4 separate regions of the Homo sapiens genome follow, and all the other regions are linked to region 2. The links are contacts of gene promoters, found by promoter capture Hi-C in blood cells and fetal thymus (Javierre and others, 2016). All regions are on one chromosome and are shown on one strand. The core of a region is centred on a gene start or on the middle of the fragment in contact, and the rest is flanking DNA. Distances in the headings are between cores, read along the strand shown.

Evidence for each region. Contacts are between HindIII fragments. The CHiCAGO score rates a contact against its expected background, and 5 or more counts as called.
Region 1: a contact is called between a fragment that was not itself captured here and the fragment with the promoter of GAS5 in region 2, in 2 of 17 cell types (total B cells and naive B cells). The highest score is 7.5, in total B cells.
Region 3: a fragment that was not itself captured here is called in contact with the fragment with the promoter of GAS5 in region 2 in 1 of 17 cell types (neutrophils); the score reaches 7.6 in neutrophils.
Region 4: a fragment that was not itself captured here is called in contact with the fragment with the promoter of GAS5 in region 2 in 1 of 17 cell types (activated CD4 T cells); the score reaches 5.8 in activated CD4 T cells.

What each region holds. Positions count from the first base shown.
Region 1 is chr1:172,814,232-172,819,480 of GRCh38, forward strand. It overlaps LOC107985225 (a long non-coding RNA gene), which reads right to left and starts at 3,466. Exons shown (of 3, transcript XR_001738297.2): 1 at 3,322-3,466; 2 at 2,983-3,116; 3 at 1,327-1,897. RefSeq lists an enhancer at 4,847-5,249. The HindIII fragment of the contact is 152 bases long and covers 2,284-2,435 here.
Region 2 is chr1:173,865,995-173,871,441 of GRCh38, forward strand. GAS5 (growth arrest specific 5) reads right to left here and starts at 1,995. Exons shown (of 12, transcript NR_002578.4): 1 at 1,966-1,995; 2 at 997-1,049; 3 at 767-802; 4 at 534-573; 5 at 183-212. It overlaps ZBTB37 (zinc finger and BTB domain containing 37), which reads left to right and starts at 2,386. Exons shown (of 5, transcript NM_001122770.3): 1 at 2,386-2,411; 2 at 2,931-3,126; 3 at 4,206-5,154. The coding sequence starts at 4,232. SNORD75 (small nucleolar RNA, C/D box 75) reads right to left here and starts at 944; the gene lies at 885-944. SNORD74 (small nucleolar RNA, C/D box 74) reads right to left here and starts at 1,751; the gene lies at 1,680-1,751. It also overlaps SNORD44, SNORA103, SNORD77 and SNORD76. RefSeq lists a silencer at 2,421-2,830 and enhancers at 2,465-3,664, 4,179-4,278. The HindIII fragment of the contact is 5,638 bases long and covers 1-3,676 here.
Region 3 is chr1:174,965,905-174,971,212 of GRCh38, forward strand. It overlaps RABGAP1L (RAB GTPase activating protein 1 like), which reads left to right. Exons shown (of 26, transcript NM_001366446.1): 21 at 3,373-3,483. Among named protein-coding and RNA genes, the nearest start is that of RABGAP1L-AS1, 14 kb to the left of the region's middle. The HindIII fragment of the contact is 6,694 bases long and covers 550-5,308 here.
Region 4 is chr1:172,537,149-172,542,329 of GRCh38, forward strand. The region is part of intron 1 of SUCO (SUN domain containing ossification factor); the gene reads left to right. Among named protein-coding and RNA genes, the nearest start is that of SUCO, 6.6 kb to the left of the region's middle. The HindIII fragment of the contact is 6,568 bases long and covers 577-5,181 here.

The sequences.
Region 1 (5,249 bases), core at 1,110-3,609, 1.1 Mb before region 2:
CTGTGGTCTGGAGGATGGTGGCCTTCTTCTCACAGCTCCATCAGGCAGTGTCACCGTGGGGTCTCTGTGGGGGCTCTAACCCTACATTTCCCTTCTGCATTACCCTAGCAAAAGTTCTCCATGAGGGCTCTGCTTCTGCAGCAAACTTCTGCCTAAACATTCAAGTATTTCCATACATCCTCTGAAATCTAGGCAGAGGTTCCCAAACCTCAATTCTTGACTTCTATGCACCCACAGGCCCAACACTATGTATAAGGTGCCAAGGCTTGGGGCTTGAGCCCTCTGAAACAATGGCCTGAGCTGTACATTGTCCCCTTTTAGCCACAGCTAGAGCTGAAGCAGCTGGGGTGCAGGGCACCATGTCCTGAGGCTGCATTGAGCAAGGGGGCCCGGGGCCCAGCCCATGAAACCATTTTTCCCTCCTAGGCCTCCGGGCCTGTGATGGGAGGGGCTGCTGTGTCTCTTATATGCTCTGGAGACATTTTCCCCATTGTCTTGGTGATTATGCAAATTTCCACTACTGGCTTGAATTTCTCCCCAGAAAATGAGGTTTTCTTTTCTATCACATCATCAGGCTGCAAATTTTCCAAATTTTTATGCTCTGCATCCTCTTAAATGCTTTGCCACTTAGGAATTTCTTTCACCAGATACTCTAAGTCATCTCTCTCAAGTTCAACGTTTCACAGATCTCTAGGGCAGAACCAAAAGATGCTGCCGGTCTCTTTGCCTAGCAAGAGTGACCTTTATTCCCATTCCTAAAAAGTTCCTCATCTCCATCTGAGAGCACTTCAGCCTGCATTTTATTGTCCATATCACTATCAGTATTTTGGTCAAAGCCATTCAACAAGTCTAGGGAGCTCCAAACATTTTCACATTTTTCTTTCTGCTTCTGAGCCTCCAAACTGTTTCAACCTCTGCCCAGATCCAAAGTCACTTCCACATTTTTGGGTTTCTTTACAGCAGCACCCCACTCTCTGTGGTACCAATTTACTGTATTAGTCTGTTCTAACACTGCTAGTTAAGACATACCTGAGACTGGGAAATTTGTAAAGGAAAGAGGTTTAATTGACTCACAGTTCAACATGGCTGGGGAGGCCTCAGGGAACTTACAATCATGGTGGAAGGGAAAGCAAACACATCCTTCTTCACATGGCGGCAGCATGGAGAAGTATGAAAGCTGAGTGAAGGGAGAAGCCCTTATAAAACCATCAGATCTCATGAGAACTTAATCACTGTCATGACAATAGCATGGAAGAACTACCCCATGATTCAATTACCTCTCACCAGATCCCTAGGACTCTTAAACTGTTTATTTTTCTTCACGCTTTTTTTTCTTTTTGTTCCTCAGACTGGACAATATCAAACTCAATTTCACCATGTACTTAACTTTACTTATGCTCTTTATTTCTTTGTGTGGATTCAAGTTACTCTCTAGTGTTGTTTAATTTTGCCTGAAGAATTCCCTATACTATTTCTTGTGAGGGAGATCTGCTAGCAGTAAATTTTCTCAGTTTTTGTTTATCTGAGAATGTCTTAAACTCCCCTTCACTTCTGAAAGAAAATTTTGCTCAATATAGAATTTTTGTGTGAGATTCTTTTTCTTTTAGCACTTTAAATATGTCATCCAACTTTTTTGGCCTTCTTAGTTTCAGATCATATGTCAGCTGTTCATTTCATTGCAGATCCCTTGTATGTGATGAATCATTTTTGCTGGCTGCTTTTGGGATTCATTTTTATCTTTGACAGTTTGACTAATACATGTGTAGGTGTGTACCTCTTTCAGCTTATTCTACTTGGAGTTGTTGAGCTTTTTTGATGTGTAGATTAAGATTTTCATCAGTTTGGGACATTTTCTGCCATTATTTTTTCACATACCAATATATGTACCATGGGAGTCCTAGAAGGAGAGGAGAGAGAAACAAAAGGACATAAAGAATATATATGTCCTAAGAATTTTCAATACCATTTACTAACTATTAGATAGAAGTAATAGTTTTTTCTCCCCCTTATTAATCTCTTTTTTCTTCTACTTAATCATTAAGAAATATCGCCTTTTATAATAGTCACTAATATGTGACTATTTATAATCAAAAATAATATGAGAATCAATCATATGCAAGTTGATATAATACGACACAATTTGCCAGAGAGAAGTTATACAGAAGGAGGAAATAAGAAGAAGAAGAGCAAGTTGAGTGTTCTATGGTTTTGTCAGCTTTGTCCCTTCCAATTTGCTAAAGCTTATGTGGTTTCCTTTACTATAGTGAATATGTGAGGGGAAGAAGCTTGAAACAAGGAGGTCCTGTTATATGCCAATATTGATCTATAAAAACTCTAGATGAAGCTGAAAAAGTTCTGGGGTAAAATCCAAGGACACAAGTAATAGACATTTAAGAATCATTACATTTTCTTTCTAAGTAAGAATGTAGAAGTCAAGCTTTATATAATTCAAGAGGAGCAGAAAGGTAAGAATAACCTAGAGAGAAGAGCAAGGAAGTGGGATTCTAGGAGAAAAGGTTTTTTGTTTGTTTGTTTGTTTGTTTGTTTGTTTTTTGGCAGGAGGTGTGACAAAAATGGAAAAGAGAAAGTAAAAAATATGGGTAACCCCACAAGAAAAGCAAATACAAAGGTCAAATCGGGTGAGTAAGAATAAGTGCATGAAATAAAGAGGGATGAACAAACGGGGTGGGGAATTTTCAGGGTAGGAGAAAAAGATGGGAACTTTGAAAAAAGTGGGAATAAGGGAGAAAAGGGTATTAGTACTGAGCTTTGAAGGAATGGTTGAGGGAATTATAGAAGGTCAAATGATGGAAATGGGTGCAGCTTGAGAGAAAAAAAGAGTTACTGGGTTAGGATGACAAGAAAGGCAAAGTGATGAGGCTTTGCCTTTGACTCTTGGACTGTGTTTAATGAAGCTAAAAGCACACACTTGTTAGGTTATAAAGTGAGGTAAAGAACTATCGAGGGAGAGAGACTGAGTACCTGATGTCAATTCTTATTACAGTTCTTTAAGATTTCTGTTTTATCAAAGGATCTCACTTTCTTCCCACCTCATTCTACAATGTAGTAGTATTCTAACACTCATGCACATCAAGGTACTTGTGGGAGAGAATATCCTGTAAGAAAAACATATACAACCTATAGATTTCTGATTCATAGCACATGAGGAGTTCATTAAAAACACACAGAAAATAACAAGACAAAAAACTTTGGACACCCCCCTCCCGAAGCTCATTCATGGGTCCCATCCTTTAATCTCACCAATTTACATAAATATGAAACACCTGACCAAGTTTTCAAGTAATTTGTCACTCATCTTACCTCCTAAGGAAGACTATGTTTTCATTTAACAACAAATAGGCCAGGTGCAGTAGCTTATACCAGTAATCCCTTTAGAACGCCAAGGTAGGAGGATCGCTTGAGGCCAGGAGTTTGAGACCAGCCTAACATACAAGGACCTTTGATTCTGCAAAAGATAAAAAGCATTAGCTGGGCATGGTGGTGCTCACCTATAGTCCTAGCTATCCAGGATGCTGAGGCAAAAGGATCATTTGAGCAAAGGAGTTCAAGGTTACAATGAGCTGTGATCGCATCACTGCATTCCAGTATGGGTGACAGTTCTTGCTCACAAGAACCTGTCTTTATAAAACAAATGAACAACTTAACAACAAATACTTGTTAACAGATATTTAATTTACTATGTGCCAGATATGTACTCCAGGCACCTGAACAACATGAAAATAGAATGTTTTGTTTTCCTCTAGCCATGTCTATTTGCTGGTGTAGTCAGACAGTTTGGGGACAAGCAGAGGATTGTGGTGTTTTTGATGGTGGTGAAAGTGGAAGGATTATCCCAGGGATAGCATTATTAATCCCATATCATAATAAGGCCTGAGTGAAAAGACCCCTGACCTGGCAAATATCAGATTCTGCTAGATATGAAATGAAAATGAAAATTACCTTATTTTGGATACTTTGGAAGCCTGCTTTGTATTTTCCCTCCAGAGTCAGTATTGTATCAATGTGCTATGAATTTTCAATACCATTTACTGAGTAACTATTAGATAGAAGTAATAGTCTTTTTCTCCCCCTTATTAATCTCTTTTATTCTTCTACTTAATCATTAAGAAATATAGCCTTTTATAATAGTCAGTAGCTACAACTTTGCTGTCCCTAGGGCCCAATGTTTGGCTGAGGTGTCCTCACTTAGTGTGCACGTGACCAGAGCTCTGCAGTGACTCGGAGCAGCAGCAGAAGGGGAAATAAGGAAGTGGCACCATCTCGGGACCTGAAAATCAAGCTAGAAGAGCCCTAATCATTCATCTGTCATCAGCACATAAACATCCCTTTTCTACTGGTACTCAGACAAGGCAGGCTTGCTTGAATGCACTACTTGCTCTGAAGTTCTTCATTTATAAAATAATAGACCAGGAATGGCGGAAGGGGTGTGTGTGTGTGTGTGTGTGTGTGTGTGTGTGTGTGTGTGTGTTCATATGTGTGTATAATGTACATCTCTTCTTTGACCCCCTTTGGTTTCCAGTGTTTGCATCATTAACTAAGCTGATTGTGACTGCCCTCTACATTTATTTAAATAAGATAGAGTATTTTAAAAAGAAACTTAACGTAGGCCTTGGCACTTAGGGATGCTCAGTTATAGCGCCTGTGTATAAAAGCACCCAAGGGGTTTACATGGCCAGACTTTTCACCACTTCTGTATTCTTGGCTGGCCTCCCTCCTCTGAAACCTCAGCTGGGGAGGGACCCAACTGTAAGAGATTTGTTTTCTGTGACATTTGCTATTTGTTGCTGGCTCACTGTTTCGGTGGGGGAGGTGTCATGCTAAAGTCTGTAGGGGTAGTAGACCATGCACTTTTTGAGACTATTACTCATCTCTCTCATGGAGAATGTCACCCAGTGTCACTTCCCCCATTTTTTGGTGTTTTAGAGCCGACCGAGTCCTTGTCACTCATGCAGCAAGGAGCAGACTTCAGAGCCTCAGTCAGAGAAAGTGGAGGAGGAGGCATCTTGCTTTCCCTCCCCCTTTCTTTTCAGCATTTCTGCATTTAGGTGAGCCCTTCTAGCTGTGTGTCCCTTGAGGAGTGTGACAGATTTGCTTTGCCCTTTAGCTTTGTGGTGAGGAGTCTCTTGCTTATTTTAAATAATATGACAATCTTCCTGGGCTGTAGGGCTTGAGAAGATGAACTTGTCAACAGAAATGTCTGTTGGTTTCAGTTTCTGCCTATTACCCTG
Region 2 (5,447 bases), core at 745-3,244:
ATGTTCAGTCAGCATTTGCTTATCATCATCCAGGCTGCATTTACAAACTTTCTTATTAATCATAACAAGACAAGAATCCGCCATTTATTTAATGCATTCAGCACTAGGAGGTAACTAAAAAGCCATTTGTGCCGTAGGAAGTTTGCCCAGTTACCTGCTTACTTGGATACAGTTTCACTTACCATTTCAACTTCCAGCTTTCTGTCTAATGCCTGTAATTTTAATACAAAATTGTCAGCAAAAAATATTTTAATGGTAGATTGGTGGTACACTGCTTAACCATTAACAGCAAACCACAACTACCCCAGATACATCAGACAGATAGTACATCTCTTCATGATTAAATCTGCTGAACTATGCAACCATCATAGTATCTGTTTTCACATTTTCTTCAGTATTAAACTTAGTATCAATATGAGAGCAAAATTCTCATTTGAAAAGAGGGGAGAGAAGCACTAACATAGATAATCATCATTGCTTTGGCTATTTTCTAATCCCTTAAAAGTGAGAAGTACAAAATAGAGGTGTCTCACCTGTGTGCCAATGGCTTGAGTTAGGCTTGCTCTTTAGGACCTGGGAAGAAACAACTTCATGTGAACTTAGGTGTACTCTCTATGTTCCCCAACTCACCATTTTGGGTGCCTCAGTTAAGATAATGGTGGTTAAGATCCTCATCATTCTAGCACTCAAGAGTAGCAAATAAACTGTCATCATTGTGGCACATCCAATGGCTTTAAACCTTTTTGAGAGGGAATTTTCAACTTACTTCAGTAGCTATTCTCATCCTTCCTTGGGGACACAACTAGAAAACAAAAAGATGCAAGCAAAACAGTGAGAATGAACCTCACAGCAGTCACGTTAAATATAAATGCTGTTAACATTAAAGCCTCAGAATAGAATTTCAGAAATCCCTTCTGTCCACTACTCTTAAAGCATCACAGGCTGAGACCACCTCTTAGATTTCATTCTTCCCACCATACTTTCCCCAATTCTTACCTGTCCATAAGGTGCTATCCAGAGCCACACTGCATCTGCACCCAGCACCATACCTAAAGAGATCAGGTACAGATTTTAATTCATTGTTCCACGGTTCTTTTTTTTAAAGAGTGTTCTTTAAAAAAACGGTTCGTCTTTTTAAACCAATGATGCAGGTAACATACCATTCATTATCTAGCGACAGGTAAAGGATACACTTAATGTTACAAAGAAGCACTGCACCCGCAGTTAAGAACCACCGATGGCGGCCGGGCGCGGTGGCTCACGGCTTGTAATCCCAGTATGTTGGGGGACCACGGCTGGTGGATCACCTGAGGTCAGGAGTTCAAGACCAGTCTCGCCAACATGGTGAAACCCCGTCTCTACTAAAAATATAAAAGCCTAGCATGGTGGCGCGCGCCTGTAGTCCCAGTTACTTGGGAGGCTGAGGCAGAACTGCTTAACTCGGGACGCGGAGGTTGCCATTAACCGATGTCGAGCCACTGCATTCCAGCCTGGGTGACAGAACGAGGCTCGGTCTCAAAAAAGAAAAAAGAAACACTAATGGAAATATTGGTGACACTGCGGAATGCAGGCACTTAAGCACGTGGACTACCACCGACAGCCTTTCATGAGAGCGGACGGCTGATGGAGGCTCGGGTCACGGCCCTTAACAATAGCTTACTCGGGTGACTCGGCATGTGCCACCATCAGAGCGGTTGGCATTCATCATTACTCTCAGATGTCCCTACCAACACAGGCTTCATCAGAGGCAGGGCACGAGAGCCGAGGCTTCTCCGCAGTTCTACTCTAACATAGTCGCAGCTTAGGTCACGCATGCACCATATGTGCAATCCCCCACCATCCTCAACTTGTAGGCCCTGCAAAGGCGCGCGACTGGCTTAGAAGTCCCAGTCAATTCAGGGTGACCTTAGCAGACAAAGGCTGGAGCGCCCCAAAACCCGCAACATTCGCAAAGATAAAACATACCTCACAGGAGTCGACTCCTACCTCGAAAAGACAGTATGGTGCCTGGGCTCCTGTATATAAGAGTTCTTTTGATGACGTCACGACGCACGCTCCCGGCAGCGTCCGCTTCGGCTCCTCCCCCTAACCTCCCTCAATCTTCCTCTCATCCAGTATCACCTTCTTCCCACCCCTTAAGTCCGCCCCTTTTCCCCGCCCTTCCTCGCCATTGTGGGCAGAGACATGACCGTCCACGTGATGCCGTGCTCCCGCCCTCCTCCCGACTGAGGAGGAAGAGCAGAGAGGGGAGGGGGCGCGAGGCAAGGAAAGCTCTGGGGATGGGGGAAGGGGGGGCGGTGTAAGGCTGAGTGATTTCCTTCCGGCACGTCGCCCGCTCCGTGGGAGGGGGTGGGGGATTTCACTTCCGGGACGGTGTTCCGGCCCATTCCGGCCCATTTCCACCCCCGGAGGTAGGTGCTGCTCCTTGACTGGACTCGGGCCCCACACCCCAGTGCCACTTCCCTGCACCGGGGTCACCTCGCCCGCCCTCCGCCGCAGCGCGCTCCTGGGGCGCTCAGCTACTTTCCTTCACCCCGCCTCCAGGCACCGGGCGACCTTCCACCCCCTTGGCCCCCGGCCGGGCTGATCTGCCGGACCCGCCCCCTCGCGGGGCCCCTCCCTCAGGACCCCGGGAAGGGCGGCCCCCTCCCCCACCGCAGCCGGGACACACCCAGATACGCACACCCACCTCCTGGCAGCTCCCCGCCCGCCGCCGCCTGGAGCCGGTCCCTGGGCGCCGCCCCCTTCCTAGTTCTCACCTGAGCGCTGGCTCCCCCGCCCGACGCCTTGTCCCCATCTTCTCCGAAGTTCCTCAGTGACATTTTGCCCTTTAGCCAGTTCCCCTCTCCCCAGGCTTCCTAACGCAGAAGAAAGCTGCTCAAGTGCTGGAGTGGCCAACCCCATGCCGTTCCCAATTCTCCCTTTTACAGCTCTCACCCCTCCAGTGCCGACGGTAGCGAAAGACTTTCCTCCAGGGGCTTCCTCACTGGGGAATTGCCGGAAAGAGCAAACAAAAAAGGCGCTGGTGTAGGCTCCAAAATAAACACATCTGAATTCATGATGGCATCGACAGAGGCTCTTATTGGATTAAAAGTTTCAAAACAAACAATAACGCTTTGGAAAAAGGTCAGATTGGCTAAAGTTGATTGTTGAAAACAGTGTATACACTTCCCTATTTAATAAGTGTGTTGTTAATGCGGGGCAGTACTGTGAGCTTGGCAGAGTAAGTTCCTGAAGTTTCAGGTGTGGTGTAACTATGTAATATATAGATAAGTGAACGCACATTGGGCTTAAGTAAATGTCTTCCTGTTCGGATTTATACAAACTATTTTCAGTAGTTGAAACTGTACTTTCAACTATCTTGTATACAGCTTCAGGTTTAGTGTTTCAGCCATTTTTTAAAAATATTTTAATGGAAAAATGTTGGCATACTTGGTAAATGCTGTATTTTTTCATCGGATCTGGAGAACTAAGTTTCAGGATGGAAGTATTCATCACCACCTCGGAATTGCCAACTTCGAATTTGGCAGATTTACCCAGCTTTCCTAATTTTGACAACTGAACTTCACATTCTCTGCATCTTGGTTGAATCCTGGCACAGCTGTGGGATTTTTCCTAGAGTTTGCTTCACAGCCCTATAACCAAAGTCTTTTTGTGGGGGGGGCTCTGATTCTTAAGCTTAGAAATATTAGCCTACATTCATGTGGGATATTAGTCCTTTTATAAAATAATAAACATAATTCTTGCAGCAGGTAGTAAAATACTAAGAAGAGGGATATCAAGCTATGTAGAATTGCATTTATTCAGAAAGCTTTCCTCCTCCAGAGAAAAGTTGTAAAGTTATGAGATGTTATATTCAGTCTGCAAGTACCTTATAGTTAACACTTAAAAGTCCTTCCCCCTACCTTCTGTTGAACTTCTGTTTTGATGTTATATAACTTATTAGTAAGGAAAGCATGGTCATAACATGAATTTTTAGGAGTCTAAAGATCACTTTTTAGTTTTAACTATGTCCTCCTGTGAAACTTAAACTGAAAAACCTGTTGGTGATTCTGTTTCCACATCTAAATATAAGGAAGGTATTTCTTTTATCTGGAGATTTTGAAACTTTACCAGATAACTATGTTTAAATACTTTTGAAATGGAAACCATCCGGGAAGTAAAATTATAATTATTAATGAGAATATGGTTTCTTTTTTCAGCAGGGTTGAATGCACCCTCAGGCACGACCATGGAGAAAGGTGGGAACATACAATTGGAGATTCCTGACTTCAGCAACTCTGTCCTGAGCCATCTAAACCAGTTGCGCATGCAGGGCCGTCTCTGTGATATTGTGGTCAATGTGCAAGGACAAGCTTTTCGGGCTCACAAAGTGGTGCTGGCTGCCAGCTCCCCCTATTTCCGGGATCACATGTCCTTGAATGAGATGAGTACAGTCTCCATTTCAGTCATCAAGAACCCTACTGTTTTTGAACAGCTCCTTTCTTTCTGTTACACAGGGCGGATATGCCTGCAACTGGCAGATATCATCAGCTACCTAACAGCTGCCAGTTTTCTGCAAATGCAGCATATTATAGACAAATGTACACAGATCCTGGAGGGCATTCATTTCAAAATTAATGTGGCTGAGGTTGAAGCAGAATTAAGTCAAACAAGGACAAAGCATCAAGAGAGACCTCCAGAGTCTCACAGGGTTACACCAAATCTCAACCGCTCCCTTAGCCCACGACATAATACCCCAAAGGGAAACCGGCGAGGTCAGGTTAGTGCTGTGCTGGATATCAGAGAGCTAAGTCCTCCTGAGGAGTCCACCAGCCCTCAGATCATTGAACCAAGTTCTGATGTAGAGAGCCGGGAGCCCATTCTTCGGATCAACCGAGCAGGACAGTGGTATGTGGAGACAGGAGTGGCGGACCGTGGGGGTCGGAGTGATGATGAAGTTAGAGTTCTTGGAGCAGTACACATCAAAACTGAAAATCTGGAGGAGTGGCTTGGGCCTGAGAATCAGCCTTCTGGAGAAGATGGGAGTAGTGCAGAGGAAGTAACAGCCATGGTGATTGATACCACAGGCCATGGTTCTGTAGGACAGGAAAATTATACTTTAGGGTCTTCAGGAGCCAAGGTGGCTCGGCCAACAAGCAGTGAAGTTGACAGGTAGGTTTGGTTTGGTTTGGTTTTCCCATGTAATGGCTATTGTGTAGACATCACTAAAGTGTCCTCTGTAGTACAGAGAGCATTTTCCTTACCTGATTTTCTTGGTCAAAATAAGTTGATGATGGGGAAACTGGAGGTGTGCCAAAAGACTTGCATTCTTATTTTTTTAAACCAGGAAGCTCCATTCCTGAAGTATTCACAATGTTGTGAGAACTGTGGTAAAGTTAGACACTTCCGTGAATCAGAATAGCATCTGCAGCCACACTAGGATAGGATCAGTAATTGCCAGGGCT
Region 3 (5,308 bases), core at 2,647-5,146, 1.1 Mb after region 2:
CCCCTTTAGCTGTGTGTCTGTAAGGAAGGGTTTCAGTTGCAACAGTCATTGTAATGAGAAGTTACTAGTCAGAATTTCAGCTGAACTCACACCTCTTTCTTATATAACAGATAATCCATCAGACATTTATCTCTAATCAACAGTGAAGTAGCTACCTGGTATGATTTCTAAATACTTGAACAAAGTACTTTTCCATGAACATCCTATGACTTTACTTGGAGGTTACTTTAACTCAATTCTAAGCATGTAATTGTAACCTGAAAAACTGGTAGTGGCAACATTTTCACTTGTGCCAAATGAATGTAATGTACATAATAGTCGAGGGAGCTTTTTGTACTTTGGGGTTATACAAGTACAATTTCAATAGCAATAGGATACTTAACTCAGGAATACCTATTGAAGTAGTCTTATCTTAGTTTCTTGAAGATATTTATCAAGAAATGAGAAAAATCTCTTCCCTGGCTAAGCAGCCTGCATTGTGAAATATGTCATGTTGAAATTGTGCTGGTATTGTTACTCTTTCCTGGCTGGGAGGAAATTTATTGAAAAAGCTTCTCAAATCTTTTTTTTTAATCTAAGTTTCCTATATGTTTTTTTTCCATGAAAAGGAGTAATAGATATATCAGAAATAAAGGCTAACTCTCCAGCCCCTGCTAGAAATTGTGTTGCTTAGGCAAAGATTCAAAGATTTCATTGTAGAAGCTCTGGCTTTTTAGAAATTTGTTTTTTAGTCTCCACATTTATTATGCTTCTGTGGGAGGGTGTAACTTCTGTAGATTGAGGGGAACAGACAGAATCTGATGAGTACAAGTTGCCTCTACAAGAGCATTCACAGTCTTCTCAGGAACATCTAGGGAAAGAGTTCCTCACAAGGCACCACTTCTGAGGGGTTACATTATATCTTGGTCAAAAAGGAGGATCCAATATGGTTTTGTGTAGAATATGACCTTCTAACAGAAGTGGACTTAAATTTTTTTTTCTCATTTTGGCATCTTATCCCTTCCAATGGAATTAAAATTCTGAATTCCTTTTTTTCTTAATAAAACTATTTTTTAAATCCTATTACAAATATATATTCATTGTAGAAAACTTGAAAACATTTTTAAAAGAACAAGGACAACAATAAAGAAAATTCACTACCTACAGTTAATATTGGTTGTTTATATTGTTACAATGAGATTCTCCAATTATTTATTGGGGTTTTTTTCCCCCCTACAAGGAAGGCAGCGTAAGCATTTCCTGTTATTATATTTTCTTTCTTTCTTTTTTTTTTTTTTGACACAGGTTCTCACTCTGTCACCCAGGCTAGAGTGCAGTGGCATGATCATAGTTCACTGCAGCCTTGACTTCCTGGGTTCAAGTGATTCTCCAACCTCAGCCTCCCCAGTAGCTGGGATCATGTGTGCACACCACACCACCCAGCTAATTTTTTTTTTTTTTTTTTTTTGAGATGGAGTCTCACTAACTCTGTCACCTAGGCTGAAGTGCAGTGGTGCAATTCTGGCTCACTGCAAGCTCTGCCTTTCAGGTTCAAGCAATTCTCCTGCCTCAGCCTCCCGAGTAGCTGAGATTACAGGTGTGTATCACCACACCCATCTAATTTTTGTGTTTTGTTTTAGTGGAGATGAGGTTTCACCATGTTGGCCAGGCTGGTCTTGAACTGACCTCAAGTGGTCCACCCACCTCAGCCACCCAAAGTGCTGGGATTACAGACATGAGCCACTGTGCCCAGCTGTACCCAGCTAATTTTTAAAAATTTTTTTGTAGAGATGGGGTATTGCCATGTTGCTGAGGCTGGTCTTGAATTCCTGGGCTCAAGCAATCCTCCGGTCTCAGGCTCCCAAAGTATTGAGATTACAGTCATGAGCCACTGCACCCAGCCTTCTCCAGTATTTTAACACTGAGTAGAATTCTATTGTGAATTTATTTAAAGTATTAAAGTGATTTGGGATTGTTTTTATCTTTTTTAGTCGATATGTTTTTCAATAATGTTTTAACATTCTCCAACTATTCTTATTTTTTTCCAAAAAAAAAAAAAAAGACAGAAATGGGCCCTGGTGGCTGGTATAATCAAGGTGCGGTTTTGTCCTTTAACTTCTCTGACAGCCTTCCCTGTTTATGGATCCTCTGCCTCTGTGAAAGCCTCAGACTTTGCCCTTACCATGTGTTTCTTAGCCCTTGTTTTAAAAAACAGGAAAAAGAAAGAAATTGTCTTCTCTTTCAATATAACAAACACCAGGTTGTTATATAGAAGATACAATTAACTTCACATTACCTGGTATGCTATGATAAACTATCTTCCAAAACATATATTTGTCTTCTAGTTTTTTGTCACTGCTTTGTCTGAGTTTTTGCCACCTTTGCAGAAAACACTGTTAGACGTGTAAATCTGAAAAACAGGAAGGTCTCATGACATTAGTCTTTCCTGTCAGCTCTCTTTTGAATCTCCTATAACTGTTAACAGTAGCAAAGAAAGCAATTTTGATACTTTGGAATGGAAGACATGAAATAGCTATTCTGAAAATAGTTGTGAACATACCAAGTTCATAGTGTTTAGTTAAGGAAAGGCCTTGCTTCATAAGAATTAGTGACTTGGTTTTTTTTTTTTCTTTCTTTTTGTTTGTTTGTTTGTTTCGTTTTTTTGTTTGTTTTTTTATCATGTAACTTTGTTTCAGATTTTTCAAGGTTGGGAGCAGAAATCCTCAGTAATTTATTTTACCCAGAATGTTTTAATCTGAAATTTTTTAAAAAACAAAAAAACTAGATATCTTATGACTGTTGCTCTCACACAAAAATAGGTGTTCAGAAAAGTAAATATATTCTTACTCAAAGAATAAAAATGTCAGCTGTTAGCAAAGTCATGAACCCATGTGTCATGATTCTTGATTTAGAGCTCTTAAATATACTCAATATGAACCCTGTCTTAGAAAAACAATTTGAAGAAATGTCTGGTGGTTTTCCCCTGTTTCATTCCTACTGTGTCTTGTGGTTTCTCTTGAGGTCAAGGGTGAGACTACCGTGCATGTTTCAAATAAAGAATTGTTTGTGTCTGTGTTCTAGATCTATGTAAAAACCTCACAGGATTGGGGGGGATATGCTCAGAAAGTTTGTTCTTTGTGGCACATTTTTTATAATGAAGTTCCATCTTGAGAGTTTAAGGGACCAGTTTCACCGGGTAGAGAACCGCATCTGCATTGCTAGCTAAACTCACTGTTGTTTCCCAGACAGCAATCCTGCCTTCCTGTGCCACTTGCGCCTTCTCCTTTTTACACCTTTGAAAGTTCACTTTGTTGCTTGTTTTTCCTCACCAGTTCTGTTCGTTTCTGTATGTCCAGACACTAATGCCCACCTCTGGCTATTGTTCTTCTGCAGAGGGAGAACCGAAGATTACAGGAGGCCAGCATGAGGTTGGAACAAGAGAATGATGACCTTGCCCATGAACTAGTAACAAGCAAAATTGCTCTACGGAATGACTTGGATCAGGTAATCCTTAGAAATGAGACTGTGATGACTTCCTCAGGGCAAAGACCGATTTGCCCTCATCACCGCCCCCACAAACTTGCTTTGTTCTTGACTTTGTTCTTGAGGAATGGACAAGTGGCAGGGACAGTCTGTTAATTGGAGACCATGGAAAACATAAGCCTTTGAGAAAGGTTTGGGTCATTTCTAAATAGCATGTGTGACATACTTTCTTTATACCTCTAAACTCTGTTATGTCTTTGTTGATACCTTTCCTGAACCAATGGCTGTCAGCATAATTATCTGAGAACATCAGTCACCAAGAATATGCCTGTACTAATGCCACTCTAACAGTAGATGCCTTACTTTTTGTTCCAGTAAGAATTATTCTCCATAATAAATGTGAACTTTTACATGAAGTACCTACATTAAGAGTTGGATTGTTAGATTGATAGGCATCTGAGTGGCTGAGAGCCAGACTGCCTGATTGTGAATGCTGGCACCACCACTGTGAACCATATGACCCTGGACAGTTCTTAAGCTGTCTATAGGTATAAAAAGGTGTCTATCTCATAGAGATGATATAACAATTAAATAAGTAAAACACTTCGATAGTATGTGTTCATTAAATGTTAGATGTAGCTGAGAGAGCTGGCACTAAAGGGAATTCAAAAACAAAAACAAAAACTGTGTTGTTTGGGACACAGGATATGGAAGGTAGAAAAAGCTGCCCAGAGAATGGTTTTTTAAAAAGTTGTGGCCCTGTTAACCACAAACCTCATTCAGCCCACCCATTTGGAAGCTGTGAGAAGTGGTATGAGAAATATGTGACTAGGAGAGTCAGAACCAAAGAAGGTAGCCGGATCTCCATTCAATCAGGGTCAATTCAGCCTTACCTCAGTGGTCATATTTTTGTATTCATGAGACTGTTGAGATAAGTCAGTGCTATAATGAAAGTCTTGGTTCTATGTTAACTTTCCAAATGGTCTTGATTCACACTTGATTCTGCCATTTTGAATCTTTTATCCATTAATAATTTTCTTATGATGGCTGACTAAATGAAACAATTTTTAAACAGTTGGATTCAGTGGGGATGCAGTGAAATGAGCTAAGGAGAGTTTCAAAGTTGTTTGGCAAATGTAGTTGGTAATATGTGTTAAGACGTTAAAAGGTTTAAGCAATAATAAAATTAAATTTTACTATGTACCCACTATGTGCCAAGCACTAAATAAAGCAATTTATAAACATCATCTCATTTAATCTCCCTAATGACTCCAGGAAGCAGTTATTATTTTAATCCTCCATTTCATGAATGAGGAAACTATATAGATGAGGAAACTAGAGATCCTCTGACTTGTAAAGCTATCCTAAAAAAAAAAGATCTGTTTAAAAAAAATGTATATACAAGGTTGTTTACTGCAGTGTTACTTATAAGAATGAAAAATAGAAATATTATTTTATCTATGTTCACTAGTAGGGGAGAATGACAGTTTGACTGTAAAATGTCTTTCTGGAATAATTTTTGTTAATGGGAAAATAATGATAAAGTATTTTTTTAAAAAATACTTTTTTTTTTCTGTAAACAGTAAACATTTATAATGTTTGCATCTAAATTTCAAGGGCTACTGGCTGGCATTGGGTCATCCTATAGGGAAGGGGACCATAGTATACCTAGATAGGGAAGAAGCCCACAAGGAAATACATCAAAATGTTACTGCTAGGTATCTCTGGGTGATAAGATTAAATATAATTTTTATATTCATCTTTATAGTTTTTTCCCATTTAGAATTTATAGAAAGACCCTAAATTACTTAACCACCATAGGTTAACTAAAAATGAGCATTGGAAC
Region 4 (5,181 bases), core at 2,611-5,110, 1.3 Mb before region 2:
CTGAGTGTGTCCCTTAATTAGTAAAACCTTGTGCATCCACCTTAATTGTCTATAAGTTATGTACATGTGCCAATATAGTAATAGTATATTAGTGTATGTAATTAATGCAAGTTAGATATTTAAGAAAAATGAGAAAAAAATAATAATTTCTGTTAACGGTACCTTTTGTTCTCATTAAAATAATAATTTTTAGTGAGAGCTATGTGATTGACCTACTAGATTATTTTATGTCATAGTATAGAAGAGGAATAGCTTCAACTACTTAGGAGTCAGCCCTGTCATTTTCTTGTTGGCTGTGCTTGCATTATTAAATTCTTTGCAGTAATTTTTTTAAAAGCTGCTTCCCGATGTTGTGAGGGTCAATTCAGTTAAAACTGAATAATTCCTAAGTCTACCTAACTGGGGAAACATAAACCACAGTGAATCATGGTGTGCTGTAAGTAAAACCCATTGTTTGTGGGACTTCCACTCTTTCCCTGGGTTTCTGTATGAATCCTTACATTAATCTTAGTAAAACTTATTTTTTAAAACTAAACAAATCTATTCTTCCTTCACCCCAAAGGATCATCTTGGAGAAGCTTATATTTAGACTTTCGGGAAGAGCTTGACATTTAAACAAGTCTCATACATTTGGCAAATATAACAGGTACTTACAAAGGTTTTTAGGAACAGCAAAGGAAGAATTCATATCCTACTTGTGGTTCTGTCACTAACTGTATGTCTTTGGACAAGTTACTTCTGTGAACCTCAGCTCTCATCCATAAAATGGTCTGCAGGATGGATAGTTCACAATGAGCGAATTTTGTTGTAGGCAGAGAGAACACTTACCCAGTTATCTAGAGCGTGAGTGTATGTGAGGAGAGATGGGAAGGGAGGCTAGAGCTAGGTTTTGAAAGGATTTGATTATCATGCAGATGAATTCTAATTCTAACCACCTGACAGAGGATGAGTAAGTGAAGTGGTTTAAACTGGAGAACAGGAGCATGAGGTCACATGGATCTTTTAATTAGATTGCTGTGGAGGGTAAAGTGGAATGTAGGGGACGTACTTTGGAGGCACGAGGTCCTAAGTCGTGGTCCCACTAGAAGAGAGTTGATATCTAAATCAAGATGTTGGCCTTTTTGTCCTTAGTAGTAATTTTTCTGAGTATGTCAGACCAGTTTTTATCAGTTTAAGAGGTTTATTTCCTGGTTTGTGATTACATTTCTGTACCCTTTTGCTTTTTCTCTCATGATTGCTGGTCTATTAATATACATAAGTGAGCAGAAAAAAATTTAAAAACTAGAACAATATATAAGCTGTTTTTTCTTTTTTGAGGTGATGAATAGAGCATATTGGAAACATATCGATAAAACATTTTGAAAATTCCCCAGGAAATCTGGAGGAATTTTTTTGCTTGTTTCTGCTTCTGTCTCTAAACTTTCAAGGTACGGAATCTATTTCTTTTCTGAATAATATTTGAAATAAATAAAATAATAAAACAATCCCACTTCTCCAAATCATTTGATGCCTTTTTTTTCTTTCCTTGAATAAACCAATGAAAGATGACCTTTACAAAAATGATTTTTTTAGTGGAACTTAATGTGAAAGACTGAGGAAAAAAAGTTTATCTTTGCTCTAGGATATATATTCTGAAGAAAGCACCTGGTATTTTTATTTATAAGAGGTGTCGGGTCATACAGTGTCAGATCCCTTCAGACAAGTTAGATGAAGCCACTTAATAGGAAAAGGTCTGTGAAAGAAGGTGTGTGACATCTTTGCATAACACTTGAACACTGTGTCCAATAAAAGACGGCAAATGACGTGTTTCATGTTGGTCCTTTATGTTATTAAACATTTGAGGATATACTGGAATGGAAGCAGGCAGTAGGGTTGACAGGCAATGGAAAAAATAAAAGGTATCAGCTCTTTTGAGTATTGGTTATTTCATTTTTCGTTTGTTCATGAACTTGTACATCACTCTTTCACTTTTCTCAACAGTCTGAATGGAGAAAAGAATCAATATGTATAATTAATATTCTTATGCTTATAATGAAAGGGAAACTTATAAAAATTTAAGTGCTTTATTATTCTCAAGTCATCTTCAAATAGAAACACCTGTATGTACGTGATGCTTTTGTTTAGTAGTTTATACATAACTGGAAAGAGATGAAATCTCTTGAAACTTATCTACATGTTTTAGATTATACTTTAGTGCCAGTTGTATGTTATGTTTTTCAAGGCCATATTTTAGACTAATTTAAAAGTCAAATTGTACATGTCACAAGGGAATAGGAAATTGCTTTTGAATATTTGCAGTATAAGAGTGTTAATCCTTTGGGATGAATTTGTTTAATAAATGCAAGTTTTTTTGAAAGAAGATTTGGTTTTAGGACTTTATAATTAATTGCTAGTTAAAATTATTTTATATTTTACATGAAAGTGACACCTGGCTGTATCAGAAAGTATTCTGTAACATTAATACGGTTCATAGGTACTAAGCTAATTTTGTATTATTATGTAGCGTTTGTAATCTACTGGAGAAAAAACATGTAAAGGCTAAGAACAGTGCCTCACTCGTAGTAAGCACTACTGTATGAGTTATTCATTGACTCTAGCTACTTTGGTAATTTGTTGAGTAGAAATAAGATGGCCTAGGTTTCAGAGTTAAAAATGGGAATTTATAAATCCACTTAAATATTATTTGATTATTCACAATGTATTTGGTGTGATGAAGGATACAGAAGAATTGTGAGACTTGAGCTCTGTATATAAGCTGCTTGTTACAATACAGATAGTGGTGTAGTGTGAAAGGCATAAAACTATGTCAGAGCTTGGTTGTAGTTCTTTCTTTTCATTGTTAATATGAACATTTATTGAGTGATTATTTCTCTTCTAAGTACTAAATACTATTCAGTGTAATATGCATTAAATTATTTTATTCTCTGTATAGATGTTTTAAGGCAGACACTCCATTTTAAAGATGAAGAAAGGTGGGCACAAAGAAGTTAAGTTCTTAACAGCTTGCCCAAGTTCTTACAGCCAGGAAGCAACAGAGCCAGAACTAAGAAGGCCAGGTTCTAAGCCTGTGTTCTCTTAACCGGTATGCTGTGCTGCCAGTTGGCTGGTAGATGGTCTTGGGCAAGTTTCTTCACTTTTTCTAGTTAATAATTTTATCTGGCAAAGTGTCAGTTTTTTTCATCTGAAAATGTGGGTGCCTGTATTAGCCTAGGAAGGAATGGACATTGGAATTGTTCATGAAACTTTTAAAAGAAATACGCATACCTAGGATTCTTACCTTGTAGATTTTGTCAGTAAGTTTGTGATACTCTTTTATGCATTCAAGTCTGTATTACTGTATTAGGTGAACTCAGTTTATTTTTTATATGTCTAACATTCTAAGATACTTGATTTGAATGTTAATAAACAACACATAAAACTGAACTGCATAGTAAGTGCTTAAGAGGAGAAAATGAGGGCTAGAGTTCTCAAGGAAGGCTTGACTTGGGTTTAAGGGAAATGTGTGGTTTATAAACTCTGCTTCTGTGCAAACAGGAGCTTCATGAGCTGAAATAAGATGTACTGGTGTTGATAACATGAATAATGGCTATTTCTTTGTGTGTGCATGTGTATGTCTGTCTGCCTGCTTGCAGTGGGTAGATGGCACTTAATTGTCAAGGAGAAAGAGAGTTATGAATGGAAGAGATAATCTAGTTGATATGGGTAAGAGTGGTAGTAAACAGAAAAGCCTGAGGAGAAAGAGAGAGATTTCAGAGATTGTGGTAGATTTTGCAAACCAGTCCAAAGAATTAGATAATAAAGATTCAGCAAGAAAAGTGGTGTTGTGAGAACATTATTTTGACATAATTGTGCTAGATTTGTTTTTAGAGGAAGGAGACTTAGAGGGGTGAATACAATTGGCTTTCCACATCCACAGATTCAACCAACCTCAGGTTGAAAATATATTTTAAAAACAATAAAAATAACAATACAACAATAAAAATACAAATAAAAACAATGTTGTATAACAGCTATTTACATAGCATTTACATAGTGTTAGGTTTTAAATCACCTCTAGATATTATATGGGAGGATATGCATAGATGTTTTAAATCACCTCTAGATATTTTAAATCACCTCTAGATACTTATATGGAAGGATATGCATAGATGTTTTAAATCATCTCTAGATATTTTAAATCACCTCTAGATATTTATATGGGAGGATATGCATAGGTGATATGCAAATGCCATTTTATGTAAGAGACTGGAGCATTCTCAGATTTTGGTATCTTCGGATCCTGGATCCAACCCCTTCTGGATCCCAAGGGATGACCGGGCTAAAAAGCCCTTGGAGTAATTGAGGCTTGTCATAAGAAGGACTTCATCTTGGCAGTAGAAATAAAGAACAGGGTACAATAAATAGAGATTTTTGAGGAGGTAAATGATTTAATTTTGTGAAAGGTTGGCAAGCTGGCAGTAGTGCAGTGCAGTGCAGCAGATAACAGCATTAGGCTAGGATTCTAAATAACTGGATTTTAGTTTGCCTCTAACCAAACTCTGTTCAACATCCCCTTTCTGTTGTCCATCTCAATGCAAAGAGATATTTACTTAGGCTTCAGTGTGCTGTATCCTATACAGGATTCTGGTGGACAAAACAAAGTAACTGCTTTCTTGGAGCACACTGTCACTGAGAGTACATTCTAGGGCCTAAAATTATGAATCTGTGAAATAAAGTTCAATGAGAAAAGAAATGTTAAGCATTTTTTGTTTGTTTTCTGTTTGTTTGCTTGTTTGTTTTAACTTGGGCAACTAGAAGAATTGGTGGTGGTCAAAAAGAAGTGGAAGAGTTGGCAAAGGGCTTGGAAGGGGAAGGAGCTGTTAGTTGGAGGTGAATGGAATATCCAAGTGGAGACATTTTATGGGCACTTAAAAATGCAGACTTGAATGCAGATAAAATTTGGCCTGGAGTGCCAGGCACGGTGGCTTATGCCTGTAATCCCAGCACTTTGGGAGGTCGAGGCAGGCGGATCACCTGAGGTCAGGAGTTCGAGACCAGCCTGACCAACATGGAGAAACCCCGTCTCTACTAAAAAAAATAGAAAATTAGCCGGGCATGGTAGCGCATGCCTGTAATCCCACCTACTTGGGAGGCTGAGGCAGGAGAATCACTTGAACCTAGGAGACGGAGGTTGCGGTGAAC